5 separate regions of the Homo sapiens genome follow, and all the other regions are linked to region 1. Evidence: promoter capture Hi-C in 16 types of primary human blood cells and fetal thymus (Javierre and others, 2016). All regions are on one chromosome and are shown on one strand. The core of a region is centred on a gene start or on the middle of the fragment in contact, and the rest is flanking DNA. Distances in the headings are between cores, read along the strand shown.

Region 1 (5,016 bases), core at 1,266-3,765:
GTCAAAAGGCTGGCATAGAGTAAGCATACAATAAATGTTAGCTAATATTATTACTGCCATTTCAACAAGTGGTATTGCTCCGACTTGAAAACATTTTTAAGGCCGGGCGCGGTGGCTCACGCCTGTAATCCCAGCACTTTGGGAGGCCGAGGCGGGCGGATCATGAAGTCAGGAGATCGAGACCATCCTGGCTAACATGGTGAAACGCCGTCTCTACTAAAAATACAAAAAAATTAGCCGGGCGTGGTGGCGGGCGCCTGTAGTCCCAGCTACTCGGGAGGCTGAGGCAGGAGAATGGTGTGAACCCGGGAGGCGGAGCTTGCAGTGAGCCGAGATTGTGCCACTACACTCCAGCCTGGCACAATCTTTGAGACTCTGTCTCAAAAAAAAAAAAAAAAATTGAGACTCTGTCTCAAAAAAAAAAAAAAAAATTTAAGTGCTTCCATTTGAATGAGGGAAATCTTTTTCAAGGGCATGACATTTATATGTTACCACAGAAAAGCAGCTACGGAATTCCTATCAGAAACCACTCTGCTCAAATAATGGTGTTTGGGATAAGCCCTTAATAATAGTAAAGAACTAAGAAAATATAAAAGTATTATTATCATCATCACCACGTCCCACGTGGGACAAGCCAGTCTGATTTGTATTCTGGATATTGGTGAGTGTGCCTTCGTGCAAGTGGGCACTACACAGCCCTCCCACTACCTGCCTACAGCAATGCTGCGCGCTGTAGAGACAATGCGCTAAAAGTTCCGCTCTATAAGAGGCATTTACACAACACTACCCAAAACACATCTGTACTTTCGAAGCCAAGATCACTGATGATTCTCCAAATCAAGAGAAACCTTATACTACTGAAATCTCCCACAGCGAAGAGAGAAGTAACCTCTATTAGTAAACTTTCACAAAATGCTAATGTCTATCATTTCTACACACTTTATATATATACTTAACTGTTGGTGGGGGCACTAATGTTTCATTCACTGATTCTTGGCTTGTTTTATTCACTATGAAGAAATATCTTTGACCAATTTTGTATAATTTTGCTTAAATTATAATACAAATGACCAACTTGAAATTCACCATCCTCTCGTTCAATCTCTAGCACTGATGCTAAAAAGTAATAAAACAGCCAAAACACATGAGAAAGCACGAACTTAAAGTCCCAGGCTGGTAACCTGAATTCCAAAGAATTCAGAATAAGCTGGTCCTTAAGGCGCTTGACTAGAGGTGACCGTTACTGGACGTCTTTAACCACTACAGCGTGTCTCGCTGGATCGGATGTCCAGCCTCTACAGCCGAATAAACCGGTAGTCTGGAACTGAAGGGCACCGGACCACGGGAAGGTGTAAAAACACTCTCCGTGCCCCTCGTTTCCTTGTCCAGAGTCTGAGCCGCCTCCCCAAGTGGCCGCACACGCAGGGCCCTGGCGAGGGGTGTGGAACGCATTCACCTTGTCACGCAGGTCCTGCACACAGGCCGGGACGCTGCGCAGGGACCCGAGGATCCGAGGCCTGACGCCTCCCTCTGCCACCGCCAGCCAGGGGCGGACGCGCCTCCGCGGGCCGGGAAGGTGTCCCCGCGCCGAGGCCCCCCGGAGACGGGAAGCGAACTCGACGGCCGGGCCAGCCCACCCGGAAGCCCTCCCCCAGCTCACACCTGCTGGCGCGTGACGCCCGGAGCCGCGCGCGCGCCCGCCAGTGCCTGCCCGGCCGTTCGGGGCGCCCCGGCCCGCGCGCCGGACGTCGCCCCGAGTCCCTCCCCGCCCCTCGACTCAAATCTCGGCGGCGCCCGCTCCCGCGGAGCGCGCGCTCAGCGCCGCCGGCCGCACCAGCCCCGCGCGCGCTCACGCCCCCTCCCCGGCCCGCTCCCCGCCCCACGCGCGCTCCCTCGCGAGGACACGCACACGCCGCGCCTCCGCTCACCGCCCCGGGCCGCGCCGCGCGCCCCCGGGGGCGCCCTCGCCGACCCCCGGCCGCCCCGCTCCGTCCCGGCGGGGCGCGGGGGAGGGGAAGGACGGCGCGGCCGCCGCACCTCACTCACCGCCGAGCCGTGCCGGCTCCGAGTGCGCGGCGTTTCGCTGTGAGGCGAGGCGCGCAGTCTCCGCTTCTCCGCAGACTATGGAGGCGACGTCGTAGGGGGGACTGAGGGGCGCAGGGGTCACTCCCTCCCGTTTCGCCTTGCAGCAGCACGGGGACCCCAAAAACTAAAAACAAAATAAACAAACTTTCCCCTCCGCATCCCTCCCCCAAAACCACAACACAAACACTCGGGGGCCCGCCCAGAGCCCCACTCCATTGGCCGCAGGGAGGATGCTTCCGGCTCTCACTGGCTGGCTTTTGTGCCCGTCAAGCTGTCGTTCCGCCCCTCCAATTCCTCGTTGCTGCCTTCGCCCCTCATTGGTTAAGTGCTTCCCGTTTAACGAGCTAGGATTGGCTGAGCTGCCTGAGCCAATCATGTGGGGACACACCCCCTCAGCATCCCAGAGGCCGCTTCCTCGGTCGAGGACCCAGAGAGACTCAGGGGAAATTAGAGCATGATGGCGGCCGAGGTCGCTTGGCGCAACCATCGTCTTTTTTCTTTATTTTTAGCTCATTAGTGCCTTGCCTCGGCGCTGTTTCCCTAAGCTCCTCTCTCCAACCAGTACTGCCCTATAACGGAATCCATACGTGCCGGCTCCTTGATTTATCCCCTCCGAAGTGCTGAGTGTGGGCTGGTTGTGCGTCATTGGACTGTCAGGATGTCACTCCCCAGTCAAATCTTCAAGCTATTGGTGGAACAGCAAGAAAGCCCGTCCATCAACAAGGGCTAATACCATTGGTTTGACTCCACTGTGTTATTTCCTGGCACCTTATTGGGCAAATAGGTGCGTCAGATCCGGATTCGCTCTGCTACGGTTAATTGTTTACTGGGGATTTGGGGTCAACTCTGGTTGTTTGGCCAGTAGTTGACGATAATAGTGACTCCCTTGCCTATTTTGTGCCAAGTATTGGGCTGCTTTCTTCACAAACATTATCTGGTTAAACCTGGGAGTAATGCAGTATCCAGTTTTTATAGATGGGAAATTAAGGCTGGCGAGAGCTTAGAAAACTTGCCCAAGGTCATCCAGATACAGAGTCGTTGGTGGGCCTGGCATCTGGTCCTGGGTCAAACTGCAGAGACTTCACTCTTTTTATTATGCTTTAGTGCCTCCACCTTAGACGATGTACTTGTCAGCCAACCTAGCATCTTAAAAACGTTTCATTTGGAACTCAAAGTCTTCAGTCAGTTTCTAGAAGTGACTTTGTTGGGGACTTACTATGGAAAGGTTGTCATTGCCTCCACCACATCTTCCTCCCCAGGACCCATTCCTCTCCCCTTTAAGGTAGACATTTCTGCCTCCTTTTATGCGAAGCCTAGGCACCACTCGCAACCCCTGACCAACCATCTACAACTCATTCTTTGGAGAGAGTCCTCAAGAGCTGGAAAACTAGGAGAAATCAAGTCTAAAGAGAGAGACAGAATAAATCGTCTTAGAAATGAATAATTTATTGCATGCAAAGAGAACAGCCCTTCAGCTCCTGGAAATCTTCCAGGATAGTTGATGCTGAGCAAGACGTGTGCTCCTGGCTGGTGGCCACTGGGTTCTTTCCCTATAGCAGCATTCATCGAAGTGAATCCAACATTTCAGCCAGAGGAGGGCAGGACGCTTAGGACCCATTGCCAGTGAGCTTTTGCGACCGAAATGATCTCCAGGAGCACAACGCTGGACTCTAGCCCACATTCCATCTTGGGTAATTAACATTTTACCGTCCCAAATCCCCATCCCCTGTAGCTTCAGTGGGATCACCGCCCTTGTTTCACTTCCTGATCCAAGCTGTTGTGTAACCTCCTTGGCACTGCTTTAATAATAAAACAACCATTGTAACATAGTAACAATGCTCAACACTTAGAGCCTTTCAGCAAATGAAGCCAAGGTATTTCATAAACGTCAATTAAGAGTAAGTGGCATGTATTCCTAGGGCAACTGCAAGAAGGACAGAAGAAAGATCGTGCGTCAAATTCTAATATAGGTTGTAAGAACGTGAGTCCTTAAAATTGTATGCACATACCCCATATTAGCCTTCCAGTATGGGGATTCTGAACTCAAAAACACAATGAATGAGAAACATTCAGAATCTAAAACCTTCCTAATCTTCAAAGTTGGTTGCTTGGACCCCTATTTTAGCACTTAAGTTGGTGCTTGACTTTCTGGGTAATTGTTTGATACATTTCAGTTGTAAGTACCTTGAAGCAGATGGTTTCTTTTTCATCTTTGTGTCCTTCACATTGTTCTGATCGTAAAAGGCCCCCAAATAAATAATTACTCAGTAAATGTTTAGTGAGCATGTCAGGCACTTTTACTAAGTTACAAAGGCTATGCAGATGAGTGATACACTCTCTCTTCCTTCAAGGACCTCAGTCGAGTAGGGGTGTCCAGCAGATAAGCAGATAACCATGATGCAGTGCTGTGAGAAGGTGCCCTGGAAGCAAATGGTAGGGACATGGGACTCCATCTCGGGAGGGACAGAAATGGCTTCCTGGAAGAAGTGACACCTTCAAGGAGAACTAAAGAATGAGTTACGGTTAGCTAGGCAAGAGACTGGTGATGTGTGGTGACCTACGACATTTGCTCTCTGGTGGCAGGGAGCAGAATGGGAATATCCAGAGATGGCCAAAGCCTGTTCTTCTTAGAATCTTTGTCCATAAAGGCCTCAGCAATTTGTCCACTCCACCTCATTGTGCCTTCCCTCCCAGAGACAAAACAAATGCCTGAAACCTTCTCCTATTTGCCCACTTGAGAATAGGAAAATAATTTCCAAATAAGATGGCCGTTTTTCTGATCATAAAAGTAACATTGAGGCCAGGCACATTGGCTTATGCTTGTAATCCCAGCAATTTGAGAGGCCAAGGCGGAAGGATTGCTTGAGGCCAGGAGCTTGAGACTAGCTAGAGCAACACAGGCAGAGCCCATTTCTACAAAAAGAAAGAAAA
Region 2 (5,360 bases), core at 347-2,846, 530 kb after region 1:
CCAAAACGCAAAACACCAAGTGGTCCATCAGCTCAGGCCAGCACGCCACCTTCTCAATTCATTCCAGAAAAATTAGCCTGGAGCCAGGGGGCGGCAGAGAGCACAGTGATTGGTAACAAAAATAGGAAGAGTTGGGTAACAAAATAGGAGACGAAAGAGATGTCATTCTAATCAGCATGAAGTGACCAGGGTGATGATCAGCAAGACACCAGGCAGCAGGAACCCTGTGAGGCACCAACTAGGTAGCCAAGTGTATCTAACGGAGAATCCAGGGCCTGACCACCAACACCCGCTTTGGCCTTCACCTGCCCTACGTCTGCAGCAGCACCTCTGGCTCAGACAATGAGCAATACAGAGTGTATCCTAATTCGTCTATTTCTTCAGGGGTGAGCTCTGCAAATAAGTTCACCTTGGGGTTTAGGGCACTGGGCAGGACTCCAGCCTCTAAGTAGCTGATAAGTCCCCTCAAGGCCTGCAGGAAACGGTCGGCCAGCATATCCGGAGACCAGTCAGCCTCCTCCTGGGCCAAGTGGAGGATGACATTGGTTAGCTGGCTGGCAGTGAGGTGGCCCAGAGCCGGGGTGGACTTGCATATGGCCTTGAGGATCTTGAGGCACAGAGATCGGCAGCCCGAGTCAGCCTGGTCCAGAGCCCGCAGGCGTGCCGTCTCCGCGGGACGCAGGCTCAGCCGCCACAGGTTGTCATACTGGGCTAGCCGGTGTGGTTTGGCCACCAAGACTGTGTCACCGAGGGTCACTGATGGCAGGAAGTCAATGAAGAGATGTTTGTCACGCTCATACTGCACCTCCAGTGTGAGGGCTTCTGGGGGTGGGGCCGGGCGGATCACATAGTCCAAGAGGGACCCTATGGCTGGCCAATTGATGGAGCCAGCCACTACCTTCTCAAATGTATCTGCGACTGTCTTTGGAGAGAGGTAGCCCCCTACTACACAGCGGTCCCAGTAACTGCTCCCACGAGGAAAGTACTCTGGATTCTCACGACGCACCAGGAAGAAGCCAGGGACATTCATGATGGTGTCTTCACCAGGAATACATGACCACAGGTTCTGCTCCAGCACAAGGGGCACAATGAGTTGGATGTGGTCAGCTGTCACCACCTGTCAGGGCAGAATTTAAAGGGTTTTGAGGGTTTACTCTGTTCAAAAGACATGCTTCCTCTAAGACGGTTCCCACCATCTTACATTCCCCCCCAGCAAGAATGGGAACTCTAGGCCGGGCGCAGTGGCCCATGCCTGTAATCTCAGCACTGTGGGAAGCTGAGGCGGCTGGCTCACTTGAGGTCAGGAGTTCAAGACCAGCCTGGCCAACATGGTGAAACCCCATCCCCTACTAAAAATACAAAAAAATTAGCCAGGCATTGTGGCGTGTGCCTGTAATCCCAGCTACTCAGGAGGCTGAGACAGGAGAATTGCTTGAACCCAGGAGGCGGAGGTTGCAGTGAGCCAAGATCGTGCCACTGCACTCCAGCCTGGGCAACAGAACAAGACTCCATCTCAAAAAAAAAAAAAAAAAATTCTTTCATGTCACCATGCAATCTACACAGAGTGAGAAAACTAGAAAGGAGAGATGGGCACAAGAATATAGGAAGGAGGAGGCCTCTTATAGCTTCCTAGAAGTTGTAAGTAGGACTAAAACATGAGAAACGATTAAAGACACAAGAATAAAGAATAACAGGCCAGGCTCACGCCTGTAATCCCAGCATTTTGGGAGGCCGAGGTGGGTGGATCACCTGAGGTCAGGAATTCGAGACCAGCCTGACCGGCATGGCAAAACCCCGTCTCTACTAAAAATACAAAAAAATTAGCCAGGAGTGGTGGCACACACCTGTAATCCCAGCTACTCGGAAGGCTGAGGCAGGAGAATCGCTTGAACCCAGGAGGCAGAGCTTGCAGTGAGTCGAGATCGCACCACTGCACTCCAGCCTGGGCGACAGAGTGAGACTCCGTCTCAAAAAAAAAAAAGAATAACAAGCATGGATCTCCAAATGCTGCTGAGGTACACAGGATTCGGAAGCTGTAAGACCTCAGTCTTTCTGGCAAGCCTGGGACACTGATCTGTGCCAACAACACTATGGTGCTCAGCACTCAAACCCCACCCACCATGAGAACCACCTTGTTACCTGCAGGTCATCGTAGAGGCTGCCACTCAAGTACATGTCCCGAAGCGGCATGTCAGGCAACTTGGCCCGCAGGAAGCTCCGGAGCTCGGCACATATGTCCACAGCAGCTTGCTTGGCCCGAGCCTGCTCTCCAGCAGGGATGGCTGCCCGGTTCCGGTAGTAAGTAAGAAGTTTCTCCTGCAGGGACATGCGGAGTCGTGACTTCTTCAAGTCTACCTGGCCCTTCCTGGCCACTGGCTTGGGCCGGGGCGGGCAGAATGTATCTGCCAAGGCAAGAGAGAGAGGCACGTGAGCTCTGCCCATGCCTGCTCAGTCCACAGCTGCCTCAGCCCCAGAAAGAAGGGCCTGGCATGGAGGGCAAGTGCTGGCACAGTGCCTGGCACAGATGTGCTCAGGAAACATCTGCTGAGTGCAGGAGTGGTACTGAAAGTCCAGAGAGGTCCCAGGAGGGGCAGCAGCCCTTCTCACCTGTGTCGAAGGTGGAGGAGTCTGTGGGAAGGGTCTGCAAGGACCGGCTCAGGCCCGTCTTCATGTCCCTGTTCAGCAGTCGTGGGGAGCCCATCCAGTTGGGTTCTTCCCAGCTCCTTTTCCCCGAATGGCTCAGGCGGGTGGGGCTGGTAGGGGCACTGATCGCCCGATCGTACATCTGAAATAGCAGAGAGGACACAGGACATAAACCTGCCCTCTTTCCCTATTTCCTTCCAATTTACTTCCTCCCCAGAAGCTCTGTCCTAGTAAGTTCTTTTAGTAATTTTGTTTTTATTTTAGATTATAGAATACTTTGCTCCACGCAGAAAATCTCAGGGAAGACTACATGATATAAGACATAGATAATCCACGTCATGACCCAGAGAAAACTGTTTGTAATATCTGGTATGTTTCTTTCTAGATGCATGTAATGACGATCACTCTATACATACTTTTGAAACCTGTTTTTTTCACTTATCATTGCGATCATTTCCTCCTAGAACGCTTCGACATTTTCTTTCTATAAAACATTACATCTTATGACCATACCACTACATTCCACCCCCAGCCCTGGCTGCATGCACTTACCCGCTTAACTGCCAGCGTGGCGATGCCCAGCATGGCCGCTCCACCCACCCCCAGCACCAGCCGGGCATTGGAGAGCACAAAGTCAATGGCCGTGCCAATGCCATTGTCATCCTTCTTGCCTTTGCGCTCACCAGCGCCTGCCATTGCTCATCTGAGAATGAAGACAGAACACGGCCATAAGTACTGGGACCCCAAGAACCTCCCTCCCCTAACAAGCCAAACCCCAACAAGTACAGGGTACTCTGTGAGTTCCAGCAACCCAAATCTTCTTGCCTCCAGCACTGCATGCTTTAGGGTCTGGAGGGAGCTACAATGTCCCATGATAGATCAGGATGCAAGGAGGAGGGGCTGATCTTGGGTATTGTAGGAAAACTTTCCCCAAGCTAGTGAGATTAAGAAAGCATTAAGCTCAGTGTCAGTCCTTTTTTGTATTACAATGAAGTACCCCACCATGCAAAACAGCCCTCTCTCTGCCCCTTTACAATGTTAAAATGCAGGTCTCTACCCCTTCACAATGTTATAATGCAGGTCTCTACCCCTTCACAGGGGTTATAATGCAGGTCTCTACCCCTTCACAGGGGTTATAAAGCAGGTCTCTACCCCTTCACAGGGGTTATAATGCAGGTCTCTACCCCTTCACAGGGGTTATAATGCAGGTCTCTCTACCCCTTCACAGAGGTTATAAAGCAGGTCTCTCTACCCCATCACAGGGGTTATAATGCAGGTCATTTCTTCGTCCTTTGGCCACTACTTTGTGGAAGGTTAGATCTGAGCGGGACCTTGGAGCTCATCTAATGCCATCACATCACCTCACACAGAGGTTCTCAACATAGGGAGGTGATGTGTCAGGTCTCAGAGAAAAGAAATGGTACAGGCGCAGTGGCTCATGCCTATAATCCTAGCTACCCGGGAGGCTGAGGTGGGAAGATCGCTTGTGGCCAGAAGTTCAAGACCAACCTGAGCAACATGGCAAGACCCCCATCTCCAAAAGTAAAAGATAAAAATAAATTGAGCATGGTGGCACATGCCTGTAGTCCTATCTACTTAGGAGGCTGAGGCAGGAGGAATGCTTGAGCCCAGGAGTTTGAGGCTACAGTGAGCTATGATCACGCCACTGCACTCTAGCCTCAGTGACAGAGTGAGACCCCATCTCTTAAAAATAAAAATAAAAAAACAAAATGGGCCGGGCACGGTGACTCACGCCTGTAATCCCAGCACTTTGGGAGGCCGAGGCAGGCGGATCACCTGAGATCAGGAGTTCAAGACAAGCCTGGCCAACATGGAGAAACCCCGTCACTACTAAAAATATAAAATTAGCCAGATGTGACAGCGCATGCCTGTAATCCCAGCTTCTCAGGAGGCTGAGACAGGAGAATCCCTTGAACCCGGAAGGCGGAGGTTGCAGTGAGCCGAGATCACACGATTGCACTCTAGCCTGGGTAACAAGAGCTAAACTCCGTCTCAAAAACGAAAACAAAACGACACAGTCATCTCCAGAACTCAGGACTCCCCACTCCTTGTATGACGCTTTTTCTACTGTACCATGCTCACCCTTACCCAAATCAAATCGGCCCTTATTCTATCTACTTTCTGCAAACAAAACACAAAACAACATGTACCAAACATCCTGCACACGGAACTGAAACTACACGTCCATATGTGAGAAAGGTCCCTCCATGGACCCTCCTACTTGACAAATGCTTTGTTTCTTGAGAGAAGTGCGCAGCGGGGACTATAAAAGCTTAGGTGAGACTGGTATACCGGGAGATAAAAAACACAAAGGACACTGCAGACTCGACTGCTAACTGGAAAACAAAACACCCATCTGCTCGATTACACCTGGAAGAGGAACTAAAAATGTGTTCACCTGAAAGAAGTACTTGGGCACCACAGCGAAGAGGCTGGCCTCCAGTGCAGTGCTCAGGCCAGTGCTGCTCCCGACTACAGTGGAGTCTTCCTGACTGCAGCAGCAGCAGTCCCCAGATAAGCCCATTCCTGTGGAGTTAGAACCCTGGGCCTGAGCCGGATAAAGGATGACAGTGTGATTCAGATCGGAATACCACTCAGCATGCTGCCACTCTCCTCTATAATATCCCGTGTCCTTCACACCAGGAATGACATAAGGGAAAACAAAGTCGGATACCATTTAGCGTCCCAGAATGGGA
Region 3 (4,987 bases), core at 470-2,969, 550 kb after region 1:
CTGGGATTACAGGCATGATCCACCGAGCCCGGTTTAGGTTGTTACCTTTGAATACTTTGTGGACACTCATGTGGATGAGGGCCTGGCCTTGTCCCGTGTGGCCTTCTAGAAGGCCCAGTGCTCTAACCAGGGCCTGCTGTGAGGCATGCTGGGTCTTCAGAAGGCAGCCTGGCAGGACAGGTAGCAGGTTCTAATTACACCATAGGGGGTCCCATGTGACAGTTAATAGCAGTGCCAAGTCTGGGCCAGGTTGGGCCAATAACTGGGGGGCAACCTACCCTGTAGGCAAGGCCTTGCAGAGGAGGAAGTTTGGGCCAGAGAATACCTGCTGCCCTCTGGTGGTGTCTTTTTAAAAAAGGAATTTGGCTGGGCAGGGTGGCTCACAACTGTAATCGCAGCACTTTGGGAGGCCATGGTGGGTGGATCACCTGAGGTCAGGAGTTCAAGACCAGCCTGGCCAACATGGTAAAACCCCGTCTCTACTAAAAATACACAAATTAGCCGGGCTTGGTAGCGGGCACCTGTAATCCCAACTACTTAGGAGGCTGAGGCAGGAGAATCACTTGAACCCGGGAGGCAGAGGTTGCAATGAGCCAAGATCATGCCGCTGCACTCCAGCCTGGGTGACAGAGTGAGACTCCATCTCAAACAAACAAACAAACAAACAAAGGAATTTATGGGCTCAGATTTTTATAGGAAGCCGAGTTCCATTTAGGCCACATGGTATTTGAGGTGACATTGACACCTGGGGGCTTCGTGCAGCAGGCAGCGGGCTTCATGGGCTGGGTCCTTAGGAAAGAGGACTCCCTGGAGAGATGGATCCAGCTCCACGTTGGTAAGCACTGAGAACTGCAGGTAGAGAGTGGATCCAGGGCCAAGCCCTGGGGAGCCCCCTTATTGAAGGGGTGCGTGGGGAAAAAGGAACCAGGAAGACAACCAGGAAGAAATGTCATAGAGGGAGGAGGAAGAGGAGAGCCACGAGACAGATGAGTCACAGAGGCTAAGGGAAGCAGACCCAGGAAAGGAGGCATGACCCACGCATCACATGCAAGGAGATGGAAGGTGCAAATGGGGCCACGATGCTGAGTGCTCACGCTCATGGAGCTCTCACCATGCTCCAGGCTCTGCTCCAAGCTCTGAGCATCCTCACAATCACCGCTGGAGGTCTGTCCTATGACGGTCCTGTGTTACAGATGAGGACCCAGGAGAGGGAGGTGACCAAGGGCTGGTGGCTGGTGAAAGGCCTGTTGGAGGCAGCTGAGGCTGTGCCAAAGGTACCATCTGGGCCCCAGATTTCTTTTGGAGAACCACCTTCCCTTTTCCTCAGCCAGTAGACACAGGGCTCTGATTGATCTACGTGAATTGGCAGATTCCATCCCAAGCCCCTCCAGTCTCACTGATGCATTCAGGGATATTCACGTGACCTAAATCAAGTCAGTGAGATCCACACCCAGGACTCTGAGAGAGAGGAGCTCTATTTCTGTTGTGCTGAGCGTAAAGCTGAGATGGTGAAGCCTGAAGCTGCTGCAGCCGTCTTGCAGGCATGAGGGGTAAACCTGTCTGAGACTTGGGACAATGCAAGTTAGGAAGTGGAGCTGTGCTCAGCCACAAGAGAGCTGGATGACAATGTGACTGTACCCGAAGCCGACATTACCCCTGAACTTTACCATTAGTAAACCAGTAAATTCCTTGCCTGCCTCACTGGTTTGGGTTGGTTTTTCTAGTTTGCCTCACTAGTTTAGGTTGTCATTAAATGAAAGCAAACTGTACCAGTTATCTATGGCCACAATTAAGCTGTGTAAGAAACCAAGAAACTTAGCAGCAATTGGGCTCATGAGACTGGATCAGTATTTAGGCTGGACTTGACTAGGCAGTTTTTCTGGTCTCAGCTGGGCTCACACACGTTGGTCAGCTGGGATGAGTGGGAAAACCAGGCTACATGTGGAGGCCACCATGACAAACATTTGAGTCACTGTTGATGTTTTGCCTCTAGAAGCTCTTGGCCATCCAAATTCCAGGATAGGAATTTGGAAAGTGGTTGGTGAAACTGATGCGGGGTTGGGCTTTTCTGCAAACACTTCAGATAAACAGAATTGCAAGAAATGCATTCATATGAGAGAAGCTAGTCTGTTGCAGATTGTCTCTCAGTTCCGGTTTGTGTACTGTTTCCTTGGGATTCGATCCAGGTGGTTCATTTTTAGCAGCAGACTTCACAGGTGCTGTGGGGTCCTTTTACAGACGTGGAAAATGGGTATAATGGGGAGGGATGTCTTTTAGCTCAGAGTTTGGCACAAAATAGGCACTTAATCAATAATGTCTGTAAATACTGATGATGATGATGATGATGATGATGATGATGATGATTCACCATAGGACATGATTTGAGGGTTGTTAACTTGATCTTAAACGGCATGTGGGTCAATAATGCCCTCTTCTGGCTAGGTAGGGTGTCTACATCTTCTCCACTTCCTCAACCCTGTGGAATTCAACCCTCACCCCATCCCCACTCCAAGTACCTGCAGCAGGTACCTTTCTGGGCTTTGTGAGTGTGGCCAGAAGTCCAAGCAGTCCCAGCCCGCAGGTGTCAGACTGATGCATGCGTGACACTTTGCGAGTGGTCAGAAAACATGAGCCCTTGCTTTGGCCACCAGGACTGTGGTCACACCTCCTTCCATCTCTGGGCCTCCGTCTCTCCATCTAACATGGAGGTTGCACAGCCACCCAACAGGGGACCATGGCAGAGCTCAAAAGGTGTCTGTTCAGCCGGGCGCGGTGGCTCACGCCTGTAATCCCAGCACTCTGGGAGGCTGAGGTGGGCGGATCACGAGGTCAGGAGTTCGAGACCAGCCTGACCAACATGGTGAAACCCCGTCTCTACTAAACATAGAGAAATTAGCCAGGCCTGGTGGCACATGCCTGTAATCCCAGCTACTCAGGAGGCTGACACAGGAGAATCGCTTGGAGACAGGAGAATCGCTTGAACCCAGGAGGTGGAGATTGCAGGAGCTGAGATCGCGCCACTGCGCTCTAGCCTGGGCAACAGAGTGAGACTCTGTCTCAAAAAAAAAAAAAAGTGTCTGTTCCCACCGCCTGAGACTGTCTTTAGGACACACACAGGGGACCCCCAGGACAACTCCAGTGCCCACCCGGCCCAGAGGAAGCTCCTTGGAAGCCCTGACATCCCAAGGCTCCAGGTGCTGTCCAAGCACAAGTTCAAGGTTGGCTACATGGGAGGGAGATACCTGCTCCTGGGAGTCCAGAGAGTCCGGTGCTGAGAGTCCAGGTCCAGAATCTACAAGGCTGTGACCTTGGATGAGGCATTTAGAACCTGACAGGAAAAACTACTGAGGCAGGAGCACTTATTTTGATGCCCCAGAGCAGAATTGTAGAACCACCCCCTCTCTGCAGAGGCACCAAAGCCTTCATCCAGATCCCCAAAAGGGTCCCTGCCCACCTGCAGGAGGGTGGGTGCCCCTGGTCCTAGGAGCCTGGTTCACTTCTGCTTCCTTCCACCAGACCTCAGCCCAGCATCCTCCACTTCCCAGCTGCTTCCACCTGCGGCTGGGGGACACGTCATCCCTAAGTGAAGGTGCTCCCTGCAGCCCCCTCTCCCCACTGGCCATCCAGTCCTTGGGAAGTTCTTGCACCCCATGGATCCAGAAGTAAGGGTGTCTTTAGCAAGACCAGAGCCACCTGTTCCCACCCCTCCCTGCCCCAGAGCACCCACAAACCGGCCACACATGCACACAATTCAGACTTTGTAGCTGTTTTTATTATTAATATTATCTTCTCCTTTAAGCATCCCTTTAAGGGTGAAATGAAATCCAACCATTTACAGAGAAAATGATTTCAGAATGTACATATTGATTTTCCCTTACAAAAAAAATAATACTATTATTGATGTCCTTACATTATGCATTTCCCAGGGTCCTGCCTTCTGCTTGGACAAGTCCCGTCTCCCCACCCAGACTCTCCCTGTTGCCCCCAAAGATCTCCCATGCTGCCCCTGGGAACCGACGTGACCCATGGGTGGATAAGGCCAGCCATGCTTCCCGGATGCTTGGCATGGACAGGCCTCCTTGGGTCTAGGGGTCTCAGGGCCAGTTATTCCCGGGGAGAAAGGTGGACATGGGACATGGCAGCAGTGTGCCGGTGGTCACATTCAGCTTGGTTTCCCTTCATATTGAGGGAGTGGCCCTGGGTTCTTCTGCCCCCACCAAATTCCCAGTGTATGCTGTGATGATATGTGAAACTCTTCAATCCTGTGCCCTGGCCCCCAGCCCTCTGACAGCTGCCCTCTCCACCGATGGCCAGGCCTTCACTCCTGCTGCTGTGAACAGGACCTGCCCCACCAGGTCTGTGAGGAAGGCAGAGCCTGGCAGCTCTGAGCTGCTCCTATCTTCCTTCGCTTAGCCCTGAGCTGGTGCCCTGGAGGGGCATCCCATAGCAACTGAGGATGCCAGGGGCGTGGGGGTGGGAAAGCTGCCAAGGAGGGAGGCCCCAGGCCAGGGCCTGGGCATGATCAGGAGCCCTGAGACTCCCTGTCCATGGGGTGCAGCCTGGCCTAGATTGACCCAGAGCCATAGGGACCCCGAGTGTTTGAGCCACCTCTCAGCCCCAAGAGCAAACAGAAAGGAAGGCTGCTGTGACTTCAAAGGAGTTCCATGGGGGGCAGTCCCCTAGATGGGAGCAAAGTGGCTCAGAGCCCCTCAGCCCACTTCACGCTTGCCCACCAGCGGCTCCTCTGAGGCCAGCTCCCCACACCATGCCCTCACTGGGCACTTAACCCAGACAGTGCTGTCGCAAGAAGATGCCCTCCTCTCCTGGCCCATCAGGAAACCCCCAACCATAAGACATCTGGAGAAAGCCCCACTGGAGGTGGGGGGGAGGGGACAGGTGGGATGATGCGGCTGGGGCCGAGAGGGGCTGGGGAGGTAGTGGGCTCTCAGCTGCACAGCCCTCAGGTCAGGATTCTCATTCCTCAGAC
Region 4 (5,602 bases), core at 2,343-4,842, 640 kb after region 1:
CGTTTTCATCTCATCAAATGTGGAGAAGTCTTCCCTTACCACCCTGTCCAAAATGGCACCCCCAACATTCTGTGTGTGAATCTAGACTGTTCCTCATAGCACCACCTGATGCTGTAGTTTGGATATTACAAAATCACAGATGATCTGTATCTGTTCGGTGCTCACTGTCTGTCCCCTTTACTAGACCATCAGCTCCACAAAGGCGGTGTCTCCTGCACCTGCAGGGTGCCTAGCACATAGTGAGTGCTCAGGGACATTTAAGGGAATGAACAGCATTCACTCACGGCAGCACTGAAGGTAGAAGTTTCTGGTTAGCGGGCAACCAAGCCAGGCTAGTAGTGGAATGTGTCAGTTCCTTTAACACCAACAATACTCCCCAGAGTCCTCTTGGTTTGGAGAAACTAAGGCTCAGGGACATAAAGTGATTTGCCCAAAGCCAGTATGAGACTAACACTGTTTTATCCGGCTGAAAGGTCTGGGTCCTTTTGAACACATCAAGCTCTCCTTAGAACCTCTTTGTGGCCGGGCACAGTGGCTCACACCTGTAATCCTAGCACTTTGGGAGGCCCAGGCAGGCGGATTGCTTGAGGCCAGGAGTTCATGACCAGCCTAGGCAACGTGGTGAAACCCTGTCTCTACTAAAAATATGAAAGTTAGCTGGTGTGGTGGTGCACACCTGTAATCCCAGCTACTTGGGAGGCTGAGGCACAAGAATCACTTGAACCCACGAAGCAGAGGTTGCAGTGAGCCGAGATCACACCGCTTCACTCCAGTCTGGGTGACAGTGAGATCCTGTCTTCCCCATACACCCACAAAAAAGCTTTTTGCTTCAAAAGACCTTTCAAGGTACCACAGTGCCTGCAATGATGCTCCCACCAAGTGATCTACCAAGTGGCCCCAGCATACCCTTGCAAATGCCATTCCTGCAAACCTCCACTGACCCAGACCAATCAGGCCACTCTGCAGCCCCTCAACACATAGACTTGTAGTACTAATTGTACTTAACTTGTGAAAAGCTTAACAAACACATGCACACATATTTAAACACCTGTCCTTAGCCAGATGCGGTGGCTCATGCCTGTAATCCCAGCACTTTGGGAGGCGAAGGCAGGAGGATTGCTTGAACCCAGGATTCTAGACCAGCCTGGGCAACATGGCGAAACCCCATCTCTAGGAAGAAAAATGAAAACAAAAACACACGTGTCAAGAAAACACACATACACATCCTCCTGGAATGGCCCTCCTCTCCTCTGCTTGGCAAACTCCTCTCATCCTTTAAAGCCTCTAAAATTCTCTGCTGTCTGCCCAGGGCTCTTGACACAGGTCTACAATAACAAGACAGTGCCCCAGGTATTGTATCAGTGGCATATGCTCCTCCCAAGCTGATCTACAAACGCAGTGAGGGTGGGCACCACGCCTCATTCATATTTGCCCAGTAGCCACAGACCAGCAGCCCTCACAGCCATCTCTGAATGCAGGTGTCTGAGCTGAGTTGTTCTCCCCAGACTTGAGACAGTGGATGTGACATCAGCAAGCCCTACACACCACCTGGACATCCATACAACCTGTGAGAGGGATGTCCTGATCATCATGAGGGCGGAGGGGCCTTCTGATGACATCCCTGCCATCCCTTTGCCACGCACCAAGATGCAATGTGTTTAAAGCTAACTATTCTTGCTTTAAAAAAGGCCACCACCACCTGGAGAAACACATTCTGGGGCTAGTAGAGCTGGCCTTCTGCCTAACACAATTCCCTTTGGTTCCATCACATCTAGGAAGGGGAGAAGCTGGCAGCCACCTACTCTACATGACCCAGGTGGCTGCTCTCTTCTCAGCAAGCCAACTCAGCCTGCACCATTTACAATTTTCCCTCCCAATGTCACAATCCAACCAGCGTTTCCCAAATGCTAACTAGAGTGGGGACAGTTATACAGGGACCTTGCCCTCTGGGAACTTACAAAGCAGAGGGCCAGCCGTCTAAAATCAATGCCAACTCGGTAACAAGACAGACGTGCCCAGCAGTAATAAAATAAAGGAGTAGTAAAGGTGTGGAGGGGAAGACAGCAATCCCCACTGGGGAGGCCTGGGAACTGTGCTCCTGGGAGAATAATTTCAAGGCTCTGGTTCCAGGTTATCCCTGAGCCAATGTCTACTCACCTCTGTGACGCCAAGGGCGAGCACTGGACCTGGCTACAAACCTTTACTCATCCTTTCACAAATGTATTTATTGAGTGCCCAGCACATGGTGATAGATAATAGAGACACAGCGGTAAACAAGAGATCACAGGTCCCTGTCCTCAAGGAGTTTACTTTCGTTTTTTTTTTTTTTTTTTTTTTGAGACACAGTCTCGCTCTGTCGCTCCAGGCTGGAGTGCAGTGGCCCGATCTTGGCTCGCTGCAAGCTCCGCCTCCTGTGTTCAAGCTAATTCTCCTGCCTCAGCCTCCCGAATAGTTGGGACTACAGGCGCCCCCACCACGCTCGGCTAATTTTTGTATTTTTAGTAAAGACGGGGTTTCACCATGTTGGCCAGGATGGTCTTGATCTCCTGACCTCGTGATCCACCCGCCTCAGCCTCCCATAGTTCTGGGATTACAGGCATGAGCCACCGCGCCCGGCGGAGTTTACTTTCTAGTACAGGAGGCAGACAAGTCCATAGACAATTCTAACAGTGCCATGCATAGGAAGGACCCAGGAGGCCAGCACCCTACCCTGGTAGGTCAGAGTAGTCCATGGTGCCAACATGTGTGTGCATCTATGTGCACATACGCGTCAGAGGACGCAGGGCCTGGAAGACAGCGCCAAACCCATGAGGGTCCAGACCGGGGGTAGGGATGAGTCTGAAGACAATTCTTCCACTCAGCGCTCTCGCCTTAGGAGAAGGAAACTGAGGCTGAGGGAGACACAGTCAGAGCCAGGACCAGAACCCAGTGACAGCTACCACTGGTCATTCCTTTAGTACAGCCCAGGGGTTAAGGGGGTTTCTGGAATCACACTGCCTGATTTTAATCCTGCCTCAATACGTACCATTTGTGTGGCCTTAGGCAAACGACCACCTCAGTGTCTCAGTCTGTCAAATAGGAATAACAGTAGCACCTATCTCAGGGGGCTGCTACGAAAATGAAACTGACAAATGTAAAGCAATTAACACAACGCCGGGGATGCAGTAAGCGGTACACTGTGGATGCTGCTGTTATTATCATTGCACGTCTGCTCGGTGTCGCAGTGGGCTCGAGACTCGGATAGCTCTGCTGCCGCCCGCCGTGTTCCCTTCTGGCTCCAGGACGCTCCCGCCCTCGACGCCCGGCAGCAGCAGCCCACAGCCCCGGCGCCCTTGACCCGGGGGCCGGGCCCGCCGCGCACACACGCCCTGGCCTCGGGAACGAGGGGGCCAGCCCGAGGAGAGGAGAAGGTGGCTGACACACCCCACCACGGAGAGGGTGGCTGTCCAAACTCGGAGAAGGAGCCGTTCCTGCACCCGACAGCACCCCCGCCCAGGCTCCCAACCCCAAGCCCAGAGAGCGGGCCTGTTCCTCACACTCTGCAGCAAGCTCCTCCTCTGCGCCGCCATCTTGGAGGAACCCCTGCGGGAGCGCCCGCCTCCCCGCAGAGCAGCGAGTGGGGCGGCTAGAGCGGCCCGAAGGAGGCGAGGATGACCGCGCTGCCGGGGAGCATGCGCCCAGCGCCACCCCACGCCCGAAGAGGGATGGGGGTCGTAGCGGACCGTGTGCGCAGGCGCGCTCTTGCACGTTTTGTTGTTGTTGTTGTTGTTGTTGTTTTGTTTTGTCTTTTCCTCGGGGCCGATTGCTCCTCGCCCATCTTTATTATTTTTTGAGATAGGGTCTCACTCTGTCACCCAGGCTGGAGTGCAGTGGCGCGATCACAGCTCCCTGCAACCTCTGCCTTCCGGCCTCAAGCGATTCTCCTTCCTCAGCTTCCCGAGTAGCTGGGATTACAGGTGCCCGCCTCTCCTGCCCCAGCCTCCGGAGTAGCCGGGACTACAGGCATGAGCCACCACGCCCGGCTAATTTTTGTATTTTTAGTAGAAACGGGGTTTCGCCATGTTGGCCAGGCTGGTCTTGAACTCCTGAGGGTTCTTTGTGAACACAGTTGGTAAGGGGAGGACAATTCATTCACTCAGCAAATGCTACCTAGGTGACCCTGCTTGGCTCTATAGTGGGTTCTGCAGCGAGCAGGACAGGCCTTCAAAAAGCTAACATTTTATTTTATTTTATTTCATTTCATTTTATTATTATTTTATGTTATGTTATGTTATGTTATTTTTGAGACGGAGGCTTGCTCTGTCGCCCAGGCTGGAATGCAGTGGCGTGATCTGGACTCACTGCAACCTCTGCCTCCCGGGTTGAAGCGATTCTCCTGCCTCAGCCTCCCGAGTAGCTGGGGTTACAGGCGCCCGCCACCACGCCCAGCTAATCTTTTACATTTTTTGTAGAGACGGAGTACCGCTATGTTGGCCAGGCTGGTCTCAAACTCCTGGCCTAAAACGATTCTTCTGCCTGGGCCTCCCAAAGTGCTGGGATTACAAGTGTGAGCCACCCCGCCCAACCTAAAATGTTAACATTTTAATTGGAGAGGACAACATTTATGTATATAAGACATTCTGCCGGGGGCAGGCGCGGTGGCTCATGCCTGTAATCCCAGCACTTTGGGAGGCCGAGGCCGGTGGATCACCTGAGGTCAGGAGTTCGAGATCAGTCCAGCCAACATGGTGAAACCCCATCTCTACTAAAACTACAAAAAATTAGCCAGGCATGGTGGTGCACGCCTGTAATCCCAGCTACTTGGGAGGCTGAAGCAGGAGAATCACGAACCTGGGAGGTGGAGGTTGCAGTGAGTGAGCTGAGATCACTCCACTGCACTCCAACCTGGGCAACAGAGTGAGACTCTGTCTTAAAAAAAAAAAAAAAAAAAGCACACTTGTCACGGGAGCCCACTGTGGCTTGCACAGAGTTGGAGGAGAGAGATGAAGGGGTTGTAGGGACAGGCTCTGACCAAGTGGGCCCCAGGCAGGAGTTTATTCATCTGGAGGACAGAGGGAAGTTGTTGCCTTCTAAGCAAGCCATTGACAGGGTCCCATTGGTAGAGAGATGTTTGACTCCCAGGTTCAAGCGATTCTCCTGCCTCAACCTCCCAAGTAGCTGGGATTACAGGCATGCGCCACCACGTCTGGCTAATTTTGTATTTTTAGTAGCGATGGGGTTTCTCCATGTTGGTCAGGCTGGTCTTGAACTCCCGACCTCAGGTGATCCACCTGCCTTCGCCTCCCAAAGTGCCGAGATTACAGGCGTGAGCCATTGCACCTGGCACCTGCCTGCTTTTTATAAAATTAAACAAACATTCATTTGCAAGCCATCTCTCCCTGACCCCCACCATTTAAAAAAAAAAAAAAAACAGGTTCTCACTGTGTTGTCCAGGCTGGAGTGCGGTGGCACAATCATGGCTCATTGCAGCCTCAAGCTTCTGGGCTCAAGTGATTCTCCCACCTCAGTCTCCCGGGTAGCTGGGACTACAGCATGTGCCACTGCGCCCGGCTAATTTTTGTATTCTTGTAGAGACAGGCTATCACCATGTTGCCCAGGCTGG
Region 5 (5,150 bases), core at 365-2,864, 570 kb after region 1:
TGATGTCTGGCGTCTTCAGCTGGGGGACAGCCACTGGGCACTCCTCCAACTGGGAGAAGGGGCCAGCTGTCACATGTCCAGCAGTAAAGCAGGCCCAACACCCAGTGGGCACTCAGGGCATCCCTGTAATGTCCATGAGGGGCATTTTGGAGGATGCCAGAAACAACCTCAGTCTCTACTTCTGGGCAGGAAGTAGCCCATCCACTGCCCCCAGCCCTGGTACACCTTGGGGTGGACCCGCACTACCTCTCCAGGAGTTAGTTCAACTGTACGAAAGGGCTTCGCGCTGAAGCCCGTCTCCCTGTGCTCACCTTCCACCCGGCCTGGTCCTGCCCCATGTGACCTAAGGGCTCTGCCACCTCCAAAAAGAAGGCAGGAGGCACATCTTTGCAGCAATCCCTGCCATGTACAGCAGCTCCTGGGGCACAAGGTAGGCCAGTGGCCACAATGGCCAGATCCGAACACTGCTTGTGGCCTTGGCAAGTCACTCTGCCTCCCCGTGCCTCAGTTTCCCCCTCCACGATACGGAGGTATAACCGTTTCTGTCTCACAGGGTTGTTGTGAGAGTTGAGTGAGTTAATCCCCGCAAAAAGCTAGGGACCATGCCTAAGCACACAACAGATGCTCAGGACACGCCGGCTCCACTGTTACTGGAAGTCTGGAGGATTTGGTTTGAATCCCAGTGCCATGACTTACTTGCTGTGTGCCCTTTGGCAAGTTACTTAGCTTCTCTGGTCCTCAGTCTTCTCCGATCTAAAAGAAAGATGTCACCCTCTGTTTTGCAGTCCTGTGGGAGACCTGGCTGAGCCACGGTGTCAAAGCATTCTGCATGGAGCCTGGCCATTGGCAGAGGTTCTATAAATGCATGGTTTTTTTTTTTTTTCTTTCCTTCCATTTGGGTTTCCCGCTGGACGACCAAATACAGATGACCCCCTGAATATGCCAGGCCTTGCTCCTGACCGGCTTTATTTCCTTTAAGAAAGGTAACAAAGACACCTTTGTTAAGGTACAAAAGGAGGTGGGCCAATTGCGGGGCTGCTTCACCCTGACTGGCACCCTCAGCCTGTAGGGCCTTTCTCAGTAACTCACCAGGCATTCAGGACCTAGGCCAGAATCTGCGGAATCCGGCCCAGCCGAGGCCTGCAGACTCCTCTCCTGGGTCCAGAGGGCCTGCAAGTAAGAATTTGGTCCAAGGCTTCACCCCAGGCCAGTGCCTCTGCATGTCCACTCCCACGGGCCGCCCATTCCAATCCCTTTGGGCTGCTAGAAGTTCTTCCTTCTGTTGACCTTCATCAGTTTCCCTGGAGCTTCTGCTACTGGTTCCTTCCCTGGGGTATGGCAGAGGGAGTCGGCATCTCAGGAGTCAGAAGACAGTGAGCACCTCCCCGGACTCTGAAACTAAATGCAGCTTGAGGTTTCAGGATCCCACATGGGGAGACAGGTAGAGGCGGTGGCTGCAGAACATGGCCGATCCTGGAGTCCCGGCGAGACTGAAGAAACAACTGCTGCTCTGCTGTCCTCCCCTCTCATCATCTGACTCACTCCTTTGACTGACAACCATCCACAGGGACGCCTACACAAAGTGGTCACTCTGCAGTCGACGTATCATCCCAGCTACTGGTGGTCATCGGGGACGCAGATATGTGTGTCTCCATTTTGCAGATGAGGACATGGAGGCCTCAAGAGGTTAAGTGACTTGCTCAGCCACACACAGCTGATGGGAATGAAACAGACGGAAACGGAGACTCCCCAAGCTGACAGGCGGACTACAGATCTGGGGGTTCTGCTCCAGGCTCAACACAAGTGGCCTGGGCGAGGGAGGGCCTGGTAGACCATGACACCCAGCATCGAGGAATTCTGCTTCCCCAGCAGGCTCAGAAGGAAGAAGTCTGCTTCAGGGGCCAGGCCTGGTCAAAGACTCCATCTTCCCTGGATGGCCAGAGTCAAATCCTTGCAAATCCCGTTCACCATGGAGCAGGTGAGACAGCTTCTGCTGTGCCCACCCATGGATGAAGAAACTAGGCCAACAGAGGAGAGACAGAGCTACAAGGGGAGCAGTTCTTAGATTAGGCAGGCAGGGTTCAGGAAAGACAGGGTGCCCAGGCCACCAGAATACCCACGAGAGTCTGGGCCTCATGGAGTCAGCCCCACTCTCTGCTGGCTCAGCTCCAGGGTGGAGGCCTTGCCAAAGGCTCAGCCCAAGACCCATCCCAAGAGCCCTTTCCATGGCAACCCCACCCCTCCCCCACCTCCAGTCCCTGTGCACCACTCTCTCCCCTCCAAACCCATCCCCATCAGCTGATCCCAGCTCCCTGCAGGCTGCCTGAGGACTTTCCCACGGAGTGGCCGGCAAGTGCCTGGGAAAGTTGGTTCCCAAAGCTGGGATCTACCCCTGCTAGGACTCCACCCCTCCTGCACTGGTCACTGGTCCATTCAGGACATCAGCTCCTCATCCCCAGAGGCTCATTCCATAATGTTTTTGTTTTTGTTTTTTAGAGACGAGACCTATGTTACCCAGGCTGTATGTGAATTCCTGGACTCAAGCAATCCTCCCATCTCAGCCTCGTGAGTAGTTGGGACAAGTCTCACACCACCATACCCAGCTTAATTTAATTTGAATTTTAATAGCTGCATGCTCTAGTGGTTCCTACGTTAGACTGTGCAGTTTAGACTGAACGGAGAGGGCAGGAGGCAGGGAGTCAACCGGGTCCATCGTGCCAGCACCGCTGGAGAGATGGGGCTGCACTGAGGGAGGACCCTCATGGGGACAGTCACAGAGCTGGAGCAAGGGAGCATCCCAGGGCGCCAAGCCTGAGAGACGGCCCGTGATGAAGGGGAGGGCCAGGGGCGGGGCAGTGGTGAGCTGATGCCAAGGTCTTGGCTGAGAGAGGCTCATAGAGCATTGGTTAACTACAGGAGGGAGGGATGCAGCTCTGGGGGGCTGCCTGACACCAGGGTGCAGGGGCATTAGGCAGGTGATTGGCAGAAGGAGACCTCGGGAGGGGAGGTGGGCTAAAGGTGGGCCTCAGGGCCCGATACACAGATGTACAGACACATCCCATGGACTGGTCCCATGGGCACTGAGGACAGCTCTTTCCCAGCCAGGTCCCTGGAACTCCCCTCCAGGTGCCCCAGGACCTGAGAGAGAGGTGGAGTGAAGGGGGAGAGAAAACAAAGCCCAGGGACTCGCCCCCAAAAAACACAATCAAGAAGATGCTCCCAGCTTTTCAATTTCAGACACTGAGCTCCTCGCAAGATTTTGTTGGAAGGAAAGCTTCTACAGTTAAAAAAAAAAAAAAAAAAAAAAGCCTGGCAAGCCCTGCTGTGAATTCATCCCTCACTCCACACCAGCAGGGAGATGGAGGCCCTGAGGAGGGGGTGATTGGTGAAGGCCGCACCACAAGCAGAACCCAGGCCTCTCTGACTCCAGGAAGGCAGGGGCGCTGGGCTGGGGCTTTTCCATCTCGGATCCTCAGTCCCCAGTCCAGGCAGAGAGGGACCTTATCAGGGAGCAGAGGGCGGATGTCCCAGCCGGGGCTAGTGGTGCATATGCACATTTCAGGAGGGCCCGAGGGCTCTGACTGCCTCTTACACACAAAGCCTGGAATGGAGAGATGTAAACTTGGCCTGGGGGAACAGGCCAGGCCAGAAGTGAGCAGTGGCTCCTGCCCGAAGCACCCAGAGCAAATATTCAGTGAATGTTTGGGATTAGCCAGAGGAATGAGTACTGCTGGTGGCATTTCAGGCACAGGGCTCTTTATCTCTCAGGGAGAGGAAAAGGGTCCCCTCTGCAGGGCCACACATGACCACAGACCTGCTGTGTGCAGAGCCAGGAGGCAGTGGGAGCCCGTGAGGGCTGGGCCAGTGTGCAGGGAAGGTGCTTGGGGCTGTGAGAGGGTTGGGGGTGATGTGAAGACTGTAGCACTACTGGCCTCGCTTCATTCCACCCCCACAGGCACACAGGGCCTCAAACTCGCAGCTGGCAAGTGACAGCAGCAGAGTCCACACCCACCTGCGGCCTTGGGGCTTCTCAGAGTTTCAGGGGCAAAGTCCAGGCTGCTGCCTTCAGCCTTGCCCAAGGCAAGGGTCCCTCTCACCCCCACTGCCATCAGGACCCCATGGGCCTGCCATTTTCAGGTCACAGGGCTCTCCAGCTCTGGTAGATGATCGGATTCGCTGCCCAGGAAAGCTGCATCTGCCCATCCTGCCAACCTCCTAAGCCCCTCACCAGCCTGAAACCATGTGAGCACCCCGGTGGCACACTGCAAGGCCAGGCTGAAATTATGTTTCCCAGAGCCCAGAGTTCCCTGCAAGGCCAAGGGTACCCAGGGCAGCCCTTCCCACCACTACCCAACTCCAACAGGAACGGGTCACCCTGGACAGTGCGCCGTGTCTGGGTCTCCTGCAGCTTAAAGGAGGCTCAAGGTCCAAAAAGTCAGGAAAACTCCAAGGTGAGGCCCAGACTCCAGGAGGCTCCGGAGGCCCTGGATCCTGACCCACACTGCAGAACCTTGCCCTGATCTACCCTGGAGCTGGCACTCCACATCCATCTGCCCCCTGCCCACACACCTCCATCCAGGCTGCCCTCCTCATCCATCCCCCCTCCTCCCCTTAACTTCCATCCCCCCACCCCCATTATTTTCCCCTAGCCCCGATCACCCGGAACTTGGAGACAAGCAAGCGAGGGGTCCCATGCCACCTGCACCACCTCCTTGGGGAGTTTGTTTGCTGCTGTCTGCCTGATCCTGGCCTCCAGCTAGCCTGGCCTGGCCACAGGCCCAGGGATCCCCAAGCCCCTGTGTCCACAGCTTCCCCTTGCCAGCCTGTAATCATGTAGGGGGTGCTATAGTCTGAAAAATGTGTCCCCCAACGTTCACATGTAGGAAATTTAATCCCCAGTGCAGTGGTGTTGAGGTGTGGACTTTAAGAGGTGATTAGGCCGTGAGGGCTCCACCCTCATGGAGGAATTTATGCTGCTATTGTAGGAGTGGGTTAGTTATTGTTCCTGATAACAGCATGGGCTCAAAGTGGGTTAGTTATCGTGTTCCTGATAACTGCATGCGGTCAGCCCTGCCCGTCTCCATGTGTGGATACTTCTGCCCTTCTGCCATGGGATGACGCAGCATGAGGGCCCTCGCCATATGCTAGCT

Evidence for each region. Contacts are between HindIII fragments. The CHiCAGO score rates a contact against its expected background, and 5 or more counts as called.
Region 2: a fragment that was not itself captured here is called in contact with the fragment with the promoter of TNRC6B-DT in region 1 in 2 of 17 cell types (activated CD4 T cells and total CD8 T cells); the score reaches 5.8 in activated CD4 T cells.
Region 3: a contact is called between a fragment that was not itself captured here and the fragment with the promoter of TNRC6B-DT in region 1, in 11 of 17 cell types (activated CD4 T cells, total CD4 T cells, naive CD4 T cells and 8 more). The highest score is 8.6, in activated CD4 T cells.
Region 4: a contact is called between the fragment with the promoter of TAB1 here and the fragment with the promoter of TNRC6B-DT in region 1, in 6 of 17 cell types (total B cells, naive CD4 T cells, fetal thymus and 3 more). The highest score is 9.9, in total B cells.
Region 5: the fragment with the promoter of MGAT3-AS1 here is called in contact with the fragment with the promoter of TNRC6B-DT in region 1 in 6 of 17 cell types (M2 macrophages, total B cells, M1 macrophages and 3 more); the score reaches 6.0 in M2 macrophages.

Annotation. Positions count from the first base shown.
Region 1 is chr22:40,042,029-40,047,044 of GRCh38, reverse strand. TNRC6B-DT (TNRC6B divergent transcript) reads left to right here and starts at 2,515. Exons shown (of 1, transcript NR_163486.1): 1 at 2,515-3,915. FAM83F (family with sequence similarity 83 member F) reads right to left here. Exons shown (of 5, transcript NM_138435.4): 5 at 3,511-5,016. It also overlaps a transcript of TNRC6B not described here. RefSeq lists silencers at 1-175, 1,462-1,531, 1,542-1,761 and enhancers at 2,062-2,181, 2,492-2,791, 2,873-3,520. The HindIII fragment of the contact is 12,286 bases long and covers 1-5,016 here.
Region 2 is chr22:39,509,274-39,514,633 of GRCh38, reverse strand. MIEF1 (mitochondrial elongation factor 1) reads right to left here. Exons shown (of 6, transcript NM_019008.6): 3 at 3,196-3,346; 4 at 2,608-2,785; 5 at 2,140-2,402; 6 at 1-1,117. The coding sequence starts at 3,339. The coding sequence ends at 311. Among named protein-coding and RNA genes, the nearest start is that of MIURF, 7.7 kb to the right of the region's middle. RefSeq lists an enhancer at 3,533-4,058. The HindIII fragment of the contact is 6,684 bases long and covers 1-4,938 here.
Region 3 is chr22:39,490,958-39,495,944 of GRCh38, reverse strand. It overlaps MGAT3 (beta-1,4-mannosyl-glycoprotein 4-beta-N-acetylglucosaminyltransferase), which reads right to left. Exons shown (of 2, transcript NM_002409.5): 2 at 3,751-4,987. Among named protein-coding and RNA genes, the nearest start is that of MIEF1, 8.8 kb to the left of the region's middle. RefSeq lists silencers at 74-173, 264-323. The HindIII fragment of the contact is 8,247 bases long and covers 1-4,987 here.
Region 4 is chr22:39,397,770-39,403,371 of GRCh38, reverse strand. TAB1 (TGF-beta activated kinase 1 (MAP3K7) binding protein 1) reads right to left here and starts at 3,592. Exons shown (of 11, transcript NM_006116.3): 1 at 3,537-3,592. The coding sequence starts at 3,569. RefSeq lists a silencer at 3,234-3,373 and an enhancer at 3,534-3,653. The HindIII fragment of the contact is 4,460 bases long and covers 1,019-5,478 here.
Region 5 is chr22:39,473,286-39,478,435 of GRCh38, reverse strand. It overlaps MGAT3-AS1 (MGAT3 antisense RNA 1), which reads left to right and starts at 1,614. Exons shown (of 2, transcript NR_126469.1): 1 at 1,614-1,978; 2 at 2,497-2,629. All of the region lies in intron 1 of MGAT3 (beta-1,4-mannosyl-glycoprotein 4-beta-N-acetylglucosaminyltransferase), which reads right to left. RefSeq lists an enhancer at 3,628-4,557 and a silencer at 4,723-5,080. The HindIII fragment of the contact is 5,409 bases long and covers 1-3,276 here.